Regions from separate parts of the Homo sapiens genome. Here regions 2 and 3 are each linked to region 1. Evidence: promoter capture Hi-C in human tissues and cell types (Jung and others, 2019). All regions are on one chromosome and are shown on one strand. Each heading gives the region's core, a stretch centred on a gene start or on the middle of the fragment in contact. The rest is flanking DNA. Distances are from core to core; before and after follow the strand shown. Region 1 holds the start of GLT8D1 (glycosyltransferase 8 domain containing 1). Region 2 overlaps RFT1 (RFT1 glycolipid translocator homolog). Region 3 overlaps SFMBT1 (Scm like with four mbt domains 1).

Region 1 (3,130 bases), core at 202-2,701:
TCCCAGCTACTCAGAAGGCTGAGGCAGGACAATCCCTTGAACCCAGGAGGCGGAGGTTGCAGTGAGCCGCGATCGCACCACTGCACTCCAGCCTGGGCAACAGAGCGAGTCTTCGCCTCAAAAAAAAAAAAAAAAAAAAAAAAAGACCACACAGAGATATATCTATTTATACACACAACAGAAAGTCTCTTCAAACACACCAAGAAATACAGAGCATGAGAAGGAAACAGGAATAAACTCTTGCCCATCCCTCTTTCTGCCTTCTACACGTCCTGAGTCCTTCTGAGGTCAGAAAAGTGTCAAACGTGTCTGCATTTTACTGTTTGGTCTCTGCCACGTGCAAGGATGAAAGGGCACTGAGGATATACAAACACTTTCTCCTACCCTTTCATCTGGCTGGCTCCCACTTGGCATTCAAAGGTCAAGGTAGCCTCCTCCAAACTCCACGTTGAGCTGCACCTCCCCTGAGCTCCCACATCTGGGCCTCCCTCTCCCAGGGCTAATCCAGCTGTCATGTATTTCTGGCGTGATGTGGCTGTCTCCCTTGACACGCTCTGGGCTCTTCCAAGGCAACAGCCTGGTCTTGGTAACAACCGTGTCCTCGGTCTGCTGTCTGGCACAAACAAGGTGCCGTGAATATTTGCTGGTTGCATGAATGAGGACAGCAGTCCCACCCTGTCCCGGGAGTGCCTAGAATTCCACTGTTTGTGGCCAACCCAGAATACATAACCTGGGGGCCGGAGAGCCAGCTGGGACCCAGAGGCCCGGGTTCCTCAGAACGGTTTCTCTCCAAAACGTGGGCATCCCACCTGGCTGACGGTAACGGAGGAGGGTCTAAGATTTAGAGATACACCAGCCTTGAAAGAGAGGCTGAGTGAACCTTTGGCTGGCCTCTATCGGGAGGGCCCAGCCTGGGTCTGTGAGGGTCAGTAAAGCCGGCCACAATGTGAGAGGGCTGAGTTCGGGAGCCCCCAGATGAGGGACTTTCTACGCGGATGAGAGGGACAGCCGAGCACCAGGGTCCCCTCTCCAAGGGAATTCTCTCTGTTGTGGATGCCGCCTAGGGTAGCCCCCCTAAATTCCAAGGGTCAGTAGGGCCCCCCTTACACTTTGAAGTGATCGGAAAGTGATGTGACGCTCCGGGGATCCCACCAGGCTCAGAGATACCCCTGGTTAGGGCTCCGACAAGTCGTTCCCCTCAAAGGCTCGCCGCGGCCGCCCTTACTGCAGGCGATGGAGGAGATGCGGATGCAGCCCGCGCCCCGACCCGCCCTGCCAGCTCAGCGCCCGCGCCGCAGGCCCCGGAGCCCAGCCCGTTGTCTGGCCGCCCGCGTTCCCTGCACGCTGGGCCGAGCACACTTGCCCTCTAGCTCCGTGGCAGCCGCGCAGCCCCACTACGCCCAGCCAGCCCGCAGCGGTAACCGCTAGAGCGTCGCGCCAAGCAGGCGCCGCGGGGCAGCCCTGCCGCCGGGGTCCTCGCAGGGAAAAAGGCCGTCGCCATGGAGACGCGGGGGCGCCGGCGGCCGTTGGGCCGCGCAAGTACTGTCAAGGACAGTTTTCGGGACGGGGGACGCGGCTCCAGGCACCCAACAGCACTGACGGCGAACACTTCACGGGCGCGCGATGCCTCGACAAGGCGGCCGCCACCACCACCTCAGCTGCCCTCGCGGGCAGCACGGCGCGGCAAAAGCGCACGTCGCCTAGCGATGGCGCGGGGCGGGGACACGGGCTGTACCGGCCCGTCGGAGACTTCCGCTTCCGGGGCCGCCGCCATCGCTCTCCCGGGCTTAGAAGGCCCGGCTACTGACGCGCAGTGCCAGACCTTACCCCTCACGGTCCTTAAGTCTCGGTCGCCCTCGCCTCGCAGCCTGCCACCCGCGCTCAGCTGCCCGCCTCCTCAGCCAGCCATGCTGGAGCATCTGAGCTCGCTGCCCACGCAGATGGTGAGGGCGCAACCCGGGGACCTCTGCACGCCGTTCTTGTGCCTGGCAGCTTCGAAGCCCATGTTGGAGCACCGACCCGGTGCTGCGCTGTTCCGGGCCCGGATGGTTACCGTCCACCCTCTTTCCCGAATTGCCTCCTGGGTCCCCTTCTCTTCTACTCCGCGAGAATCTCCTGTCCATTCTCCGTGAGGGTGTTTCAGTTCCTCCCGGGAAGCCCAGAATTTAATATCTTGCCCAGGCCCTTAGGAGAGCGGGAGACCCTGATGTTGGGGTTACCCTGTGCCAGAGTTGTGAGGTCAGGGCAGGAATTGTATGTTCTCGGCGGTGGAACCAATTCTTTTTTTCCTCTGCTTCACCCCAGGATTACAAGGGCCAGAAGCTAGCTGAACAGATGTTTCAGGGAATTATTCTTTTTTCTGCAGTAAGTATTGGTTTTACATTTAATCTCCGCCCCCGCCTCCCTCCCAACCCTCAGTTTGAGTGTGTTTAATATACTTCATTTGTCTCTAGATAGTTGGATTTATCTACGGGTACGTGGCTGAACAGTTCGGGTGGACTGTCTATATAGTTATGGCCGGATTTGCTTTTTCATGTTTGGTAAGAAATTTGTGGGTATTAGTGGCAGCTTGGGTTTTGTGAGTCGGGTTGGTTTGGTTAGACCTACTCAGTAGTGAGACCCAAAGCCAACGTTTCCCTCATCCTTCCAAACAGCGTTTCCCTTTGCTATCATTGGAAAAGTAGAATGCCAAAATAGTGTCAGATGGTGCGAACTATATAAAAGGACACAGCTTATTTCCTTTGGCGGCTACTCTGGCTAATAATCTTAAGGTCAAAGCCAGCAGGAGTTTTCATGGTGCTCACGTTGTCCCTTCACCTTTTATTTATTTATTTATTTAAATTTTTTGAGACGGAGTTTCACTCTTGTTGCCCAGGCTGCAGTGCACTGGGGCGATTTCGGCTCACTGCACCTTCTGCCTCCCGGGTTTAATAGATTTTCCTGCCTCAGCCTCCCGAGTAGCTGTGACTACAGGAGCCCACCACCACACCCAGCTAATTTTTGTATTTTTAGTAAAGACAGGGCTTCACTGTGTTGGCCAGGCTGGTCTCAAGCAATCCGCCCACCTTGGCCTCCCAGAGTGCTTGGATTACAGGCGAGAGCCACCACGCCTGGCCCCCACCTTTCTTTT
Region 2 (3,130 bases), core at 631-3,130, 390 kb after region 1:
AATGCCAGAGGCCTGGTCAGGTCCAGCTGAGCTTTAGGGAGGCACCAGAGGCAGAGAACCACAGAGGACCTGCTGCCAAAGTGCTGACAGCCCAGGCGGCAGGGCTAGTCCTGGGAAAACACGCAGCCACATGTACAACTCTCCCTAGATACAGGGAAGCAGGACACCGGAAGAAGCCCTGGGCTGCCTTTGCGGCTGGCTGTCTTTCAAGAGGAGCTGGCCCTGACAGCAGCACTGGGCGAACAGCAGGGGAGGGATGAGAGAGTGAGCACTGCCTTCAGACATAGAGCCTCTCTCAAGCTGAGAGAGCACAAGCCTGGGGAGTCCTGCTCCCAGAGACCCCGGAGTCACAAGGCTGCTTGTAGAGCAGCAGCTCTGTTCCTGGAGCAGAGAACAGGCACTGTGAGCATGAGCATGATGGTCCTGGGCCTGTCACGAAGGAAGACAATGGGGCATGCCAACCTTGGTGGCATCAAAGCCACGTGGGCTTGCCAGAAAAGCCAATCTCAGAGCCCTCCTCCTGGGAGACACAGACCCTGAAGGCCTGGAGTGGGTCCTGGGAAGCCATGTTCTGACTTGCAATCCAGGTGATTCCGAGGCAGGTAGAATGAGGATCATGCTTGAGTCTGGGGTCAGGTGGGCACGGGATAGGTGCAGGGTTCCGGGAGGGTGATCAGCAGCTGCAGAGAAGCAGCTCATGAGGACTGAAGGTCCCTTTCTGTGGATGCCAGGGACAGAGAAAGGACATGGGAGGGAAGGAGGACTGCCTTCCGTGTGTGCTCCACTTGACCCTATGGGACCATCCATTTTTCTGAGCTGGCCTGACCTTGCCCGATGAAGGCATGACTGAGGCCATGCTTTGGAGGTCCTCTAATTGCTCAGGACACCTTGCATTTAGCTGCTTTTCTCCCACTTAGTGCAAAGCATTCTCCCTCTGAGTAGATAAAAACCTGCCAGGTGACTGGGCCCCAGTCTTGGTGTACTGACAGGTCTTAATCCTTAGCCCCTGGGTACTGGCTCTGGGCAAGCAGATTTAAATACATGCATTTTAATGCATGATAGGAGTTGCCCTTACTGGCCCTCTCTCTAGGTGTAGACACAGAAGGTTTGGGGCACTGAGTGACAGGATTATTAACATCCAAGTTATAGTTTGTGCATATAGTTCTGAGGGGGGTTAATATCTAAAAGGAATTAATACATTAACAAAAAAATAAAAACACTTCACACTCCAGAACACTGCTCATGATTTCACCTGCAGTGTGCAGGCTGCAAGGTGCAGAACACCTGGGCTCACACTGTAGCCTGGAGTACCAGGCCCCCATGCCTGCCACTCTTGTCCTGGGGCTGGAATTTGGTTGTATTGATCAATGCTGGAATTAATGGGTCAACGGGAGGGACCTGACTCAGTAATACTAGCCATATAGAGTTTGCCTTGTCTTATTCTGAGGATAAAAAAGTACATCTGTTAAACCTTATCTGTCACCAGTGCAATTCCCATGTGAGAAGTTACAGAAAGCTGCAAAGCAGCATTCCCCTCAGGGACAAAGTGGCTCAACTGGATCACAGTTTTCTTCAAAGTCCGCCTCTTGCAGGTGGCCAGGCCAGGAGTCTCCAGCCAGCTTTCACCCACCCTTCAATCAACAAATCCTGAGAGCCCACTCTGGGTCAAGTATGTGCTGACCTGGGGCGGCGGGGAACAGTGTGATCACGACAGGCAAGATTCTCCCGAACTCACTCTGGGAAATGTGATCTGAAAACCTTCCTGGTTTCATTTCTTGGATTTCTCACTGAGTAGCATTTTTCCTTCTCTAAAAACTCAGACCACAGTTTTGACACAAAGAAAGCCACAACTTCAGGGCCACACTCTGTTTCCATGTGGTGCATGAGAGAGAGAGGTTTCTCTCTCTCTTTTACAGAAGAAGTTCAATATTCCTGTGAAGGGTAAAATCACTGCATCTCTTTTTCTGGGCCAGATAATTATTAACAGTTAACAATTAAGATATAGTTTGTTGGAGCATGTAGCTCCAAAGGCCAATCATACGCAAAAGGAATGAGTATATTAGTAAAAGAGAAAATGCTGATTACTATAAAATGATAAAAAACTATTATTTTTAAAGGGCTTTTGGTCTTCACTTAAAAATGAAACTCCCCCCCCGCATTTCAGACTTCGAATGGTCACAGGTGTCTCATGCAGTGGCACTCTCTGGTGCCTCATCTCTGGGGTTGCTGTCACTCCGCTGCAGAGCCCTCAGTGGGGCTCTTACACAGAATGTGTTCCACCCACAGAACTACCCATAGCTGGTCCAGGTGCCTCGGGTGTCCAGGCTTCCCTGAAGTCATGTCATTTTGTCAGTGCGTCTGGGCACACCTAACTGAGTCCTGAGGAAATGGATCAGCTTGGTCTCTGTGAGGAATGCTGTCCCGAGAGTTGCTCCCAGACAGAAGGCCCCCACAGCAATGTGTGCCAGTCTGGCTGGCCAGCCCTGCTCACAGCAGAGGAATACCTGGGGAAAGAAACCATTGTCAGTGCCTGTTCCTCAGTCTATACCTCCTTCCTCTGGGACCAGCCAGGGAAGACAGCTGTGGTTCCAGCTTCTAAGTCAGATAAAAGGCATAACAGCCATACTGCAGGTCCATTGTTTCCCCATTGGCAACATTCTCTTGTCACATTATCAGAAGATGCTGCCCTAGAGGCCTGGGGAGGGGACAGGAGGAGGCAAAAACCTGGGAAGAGGAGGCCTAGCGGGAGAGACAGCGGGGCAGCTGCAGAAGCATGTGGCATGATGGCTCAGGGAGTCTCACCTCCGAAACAGCAGTAACCCCACCACTGAGGGCAAATGTCCCGAGCAGGACTGGCGATAGGTGCAGGCCAGCCAGGGGCCTGTGGGGGCTCCTTCGGTAGTAGCGGTGGATGAAGCAAAGGCTCTGCGTGATCCGAATGCCCATGTTAAAGCAGTTGGCCAAGATGAAGCCCACGCTGCCACACCAACGGGTCAAGAGATAGGATAACACCAGGAATGAGGAGGACAGGGCCAGCATCACAAAATTGTACCTGGGGAGGAGACAGGAAAAGGAGGGCAGTGGTGACCTTGCCCTGGACAAGGCTGCTCCCAAAACAGCGGCCATGAAC
Region 3 (3,130 bases), core at 178-2,677, 340 kb after region 1:
GGGAGCAAATTAATGTGAACAGAAATGAAGAACCAGTGGCAGCCCATGGGCAGCCTTACTACTGAGCAAATATTCCATAGTAGCCACCTCAAATGCTTTTTTAAAAACTCTTCAGGGTATAAAAAATAATAATTTGGAATTCAAATCTGAGTACTTGTTGGCTAACACTTTAAATTGAATATCAGCAAGAAAAACTCCTGAGGCATTTTAGTAATTGCTAAATTTCTCATCCCAGCTCATGTTGTCATTCCAAATGTGTGACTGTCCCACACTTTCAACTGCCAACAAACCACCTTCCAACTCTCATCTAAGATCCTCTCCAAATACCATCTCAGACAGAACCCAAGTTTCCCAGATAAACAGATACTGACACTTAACAACCCTATCTGCCCCACATCAGTTTAATAATTAACCTTTCTCTAGACTAAGCAAAAACATCAAAAAAGAACCAATGCACCAGACCAGTATGCCAGTTAAAAAAAAAAAAAAAGACCCAATGCACACAGTACTGTGCATCATGTTGGAAATATCACCTTATAGCCTCTCTCTGCATAGTGACATGCTTGGCTCACTGAAGTTACTCAACTGTTCAAACCACAGAGTTCAACAGGTACTTAACACATCATTTAACACACAATATACAGACTACTTTTTTTTTTGTTTTTATTTATTTTTTTGAGACAGGGTCTCGCTATGTCACCAGGCTGAAGGGGTGTGATCACAGCCCACTGCAACGTCTGTCTCCCTGGCTCAAGAGATATACCTGCCTCAGCCTCCCGAGTAGCTGAGACTACAGGCATGCACCAAGACACCTGAATTTTTTTTTTTTTTTTTTTTTTTTTTTTTTTTTTTGTAGAGACAGGGCTTCCCTATGTTGTCCAGGCTGGTATCAAACTCCTGGACTCCAGAGATCTGCCTGCCTTGGTCTCCCAAAATGCTGGGATTACAGGTGTAAGTCACTGCGCCCGGCCTATTTTTTGTTTTTAAATAAATTCCTTGAGTGACTGCCTGAAGACAAAAGAGAACTAAATAAGGTTATAAACATCCTCTTGAATAAAAGAAAGAATAATTACATACACGTTTTCAGGTGTCTCTGAGTTAGAGGAAAAGGTTTACAATCAAATCATTAAGACTTATGCAGTGAAGTCATATGATTTTTCTATTAATAATGTGTCAGTGTTCTTATCCTTCCTCCCCCTTTTGAAAAGTTTAAACATGAATCTGCAACAACCTGACCACATTCTTTCTATTTTAAATCATTTTCCGCGAGGCGCGGGGGCTCATGCCTGTAATCCCAGCACTTTGGGAGGCCAAGGAGGGTGGATCACCTGAGATCAGGAGTTCAAGACTAGCCTGACCAACATGGTGAAACCCCATCTTTACTAAAAATACCAAAATTAGCCAGGAATGGTGGTGCATGCCCATAATCCCAGCTACTTGGGAGGCTGAGGCAGGAGAATTGCTTGAACCCAGGAGGCAGAGGTTGCAGTGAGCCATGATCGTGCCATTGCACTCCAGCCTGGGCAACAAGAGTAAAAGTCTGTCTCAAAAAAAAAAAAAAAAAAAAAAAAAAAAAAAAATTCTTTTCCAATGAGGTTAGTATCCCCTGAAGAATGGGAGACTCCTATCAAAATCCCACTCCCCAAACTCTAATGGTTTAAAATCTCGCAAGTAACCAAAATCCCCACACACTTTTATCCCATTTAATAACTATGTATATACAGAAATATTATTTTCAAATACAAAATATCCCAGTTAGGTAACGAATGCTATATACTAAAAGAAAAATACTCTGCCATAAGGAAGTTGTATCATTTACTCATTACAAGTTCTTTTATTTTATGTTATTCCAAAATATTGGTTATAAGCCAAATAATCCAAGAAAGCAAAATTTTGGAAAATTATAAGAGAAAAAATGTAACATTAAAAATATTAAAGATGTAAAATGTCTGCCTAAATAATGGCCTTTTGGTTTTTGGACTGTATCTATTTACTTAATGTGAACATAACATGACGCCAAAATAAAAAGCCAATGAAGTTTGTATAGTTCATCTTTTCTACAGACTTTAGAGTTAAATGATACCTGCTGCTACACCACCATTCCACAGCTAAACCCAGTCTAGGTATCACTGTGAAAGCAAAAGTATACTACAGAAGCAGGAAGATTATGGATAGGCAAATCATACTGGGTTGGTTGGTTTGTTTTTTGAGACAGTGTCACTCTGTTACCCAGGCTGGAGTGCAGCAGTGCAATCATAGCTCACTGCAGCCTCGAACTCCTGGGCTCAAAGGATCCTCCCACCTCAGCCTCCTGAAGAGCTGGGACTATAGGTGCCCACCACCGCGCCTGGCTAATTTTTTTATTTTTTTGGAGACACAGGGTCTCCCTTTTCTTTCATCCAGGCTGGCCTCGAACTCCTGGTCTCAAGCGATCCTCTTGCCTAGCCTCCCAAAGTGCTGGGATTATAGGCGTGAGCCACTGTGCCTAGCCAGCAATCATTTTTAAAAGGAAAAATCTGAGTTTACAACAAAACAGCAAAAAAAGGAAATTCCCTTTCATTGTGTATTTTGTTTCTCGTGTATCTCTTTAGTTGCTTCTCTTAAAAATGTAATAGATTTTAAATTAAACAATCTGATCACATAAAAGTCAAGAAATTTAAAAAGAGCCACAAAAAGAAACAATGTATCAATAATAGCTAAGTCATCAATTACTCTCTTGGCTAATGAGGCTGTGAATCTTGGGTGGAGTGACCAAATCCAGCTTAGTTGCTGGTCAGTCAGTTGGCTGGCTAGCTTAACACGGGAAAGACAGAATTATTCAGCGAAATCATTTCACAAAAGAAAACCTTTTAACTTTGTGGACTATTCCCCATGGATCCCTACACCACAGGCCTTAGAACATTCCCAACTTTTATCACACAGATATCTTTGCAGTAAAAAACACAAGCCTTTGTTAGGAACTAACAAAATAAGAATTCACTTACAACATCTAACCCATCTCCTTTACAGTAGGAACAAGAAAAGGCACAAGACGACATTGGTGAAGGAAATGCAAATTGTTGCAGCATTTGCTTCAGTGGAGAATATTTAAAAGTCCACCTTCCTAGAAAGAGGGTTAATAAAAAAAAAA

What was found. The method cuts DNA at HindIII sites, captures the fragments that hold promoters and counts their contacts. A contact is called where the count stands out against the background at its distance.
Region 2: a contact is called between a fragment that was not itself captured here and the fragment with the promoter of GLT8D1 in region 1, in 1 of the 25 tissues and cell types used here (lymphoblastoid cells).
Region 3: a contact is called between a fragment that was not itself captured here and the fragment with the promoter of GLT8D1 in region 1, in 1 of the 25 tissues and cell types used here (hippocampus).

What each region holds. Positions count from the first base shown.
Region 1 is chr3:52,704,340-52,707,469 of GRCh38, forward strand. GLT8D1 (glycosyltransferase 8 domain containing 1) reads right to left here and starts at 1,452. Exons shown (of 10, transcript NM_018446.4): 1 at 1,108-1,452. It overlaps SPCS1 (signal peptidase complex subunit 1), which reads left to right and starts at 1,767. Exons shown (of 4, transcript NM_014041.5): 1 at 1,767-1,943; 2 at 2,305-2,364; 3 at 2,454-2,540. The coding sequence starts at 1,908. RefSeq lists a silencer at 1,179-1,348. The HindIII fragment of the contact is 20,736 bases long and covers 1-3,130 here.
Region 2 is chr3:53,089,567-53,092,696 of GRCh38, forward strand. It overlaps RFT1 (RFT1 glycolipid translocator homolog), which reads right to left. Exons shown (of 13, transcript NM_052859.4): 12 at 2,803-3,052; 13 at 1-2,504. The coding sequence ends at 2,337. Among named protein-coding and RNA genes, the nearest start is that of RFT1, 39 kb to the right of the region's middle. The HindIII fragment of the contact is 9,550 bases long and covers 1-3,130 here.
Region 3 is chr3:53,040,152-53,043,281 of GRCh38, forward strand. All of the region lies in intron 1 of SFMBT1 (Scm like with four mbt domains 1), which reads right to left. Among named protein-coding and RNA genes, the nearest start is that of SFMBT1, 4.4 kb to the right of the region's middle. The HindIII fragment of the contact is 6,201 bases long and covers 1-3,130 here.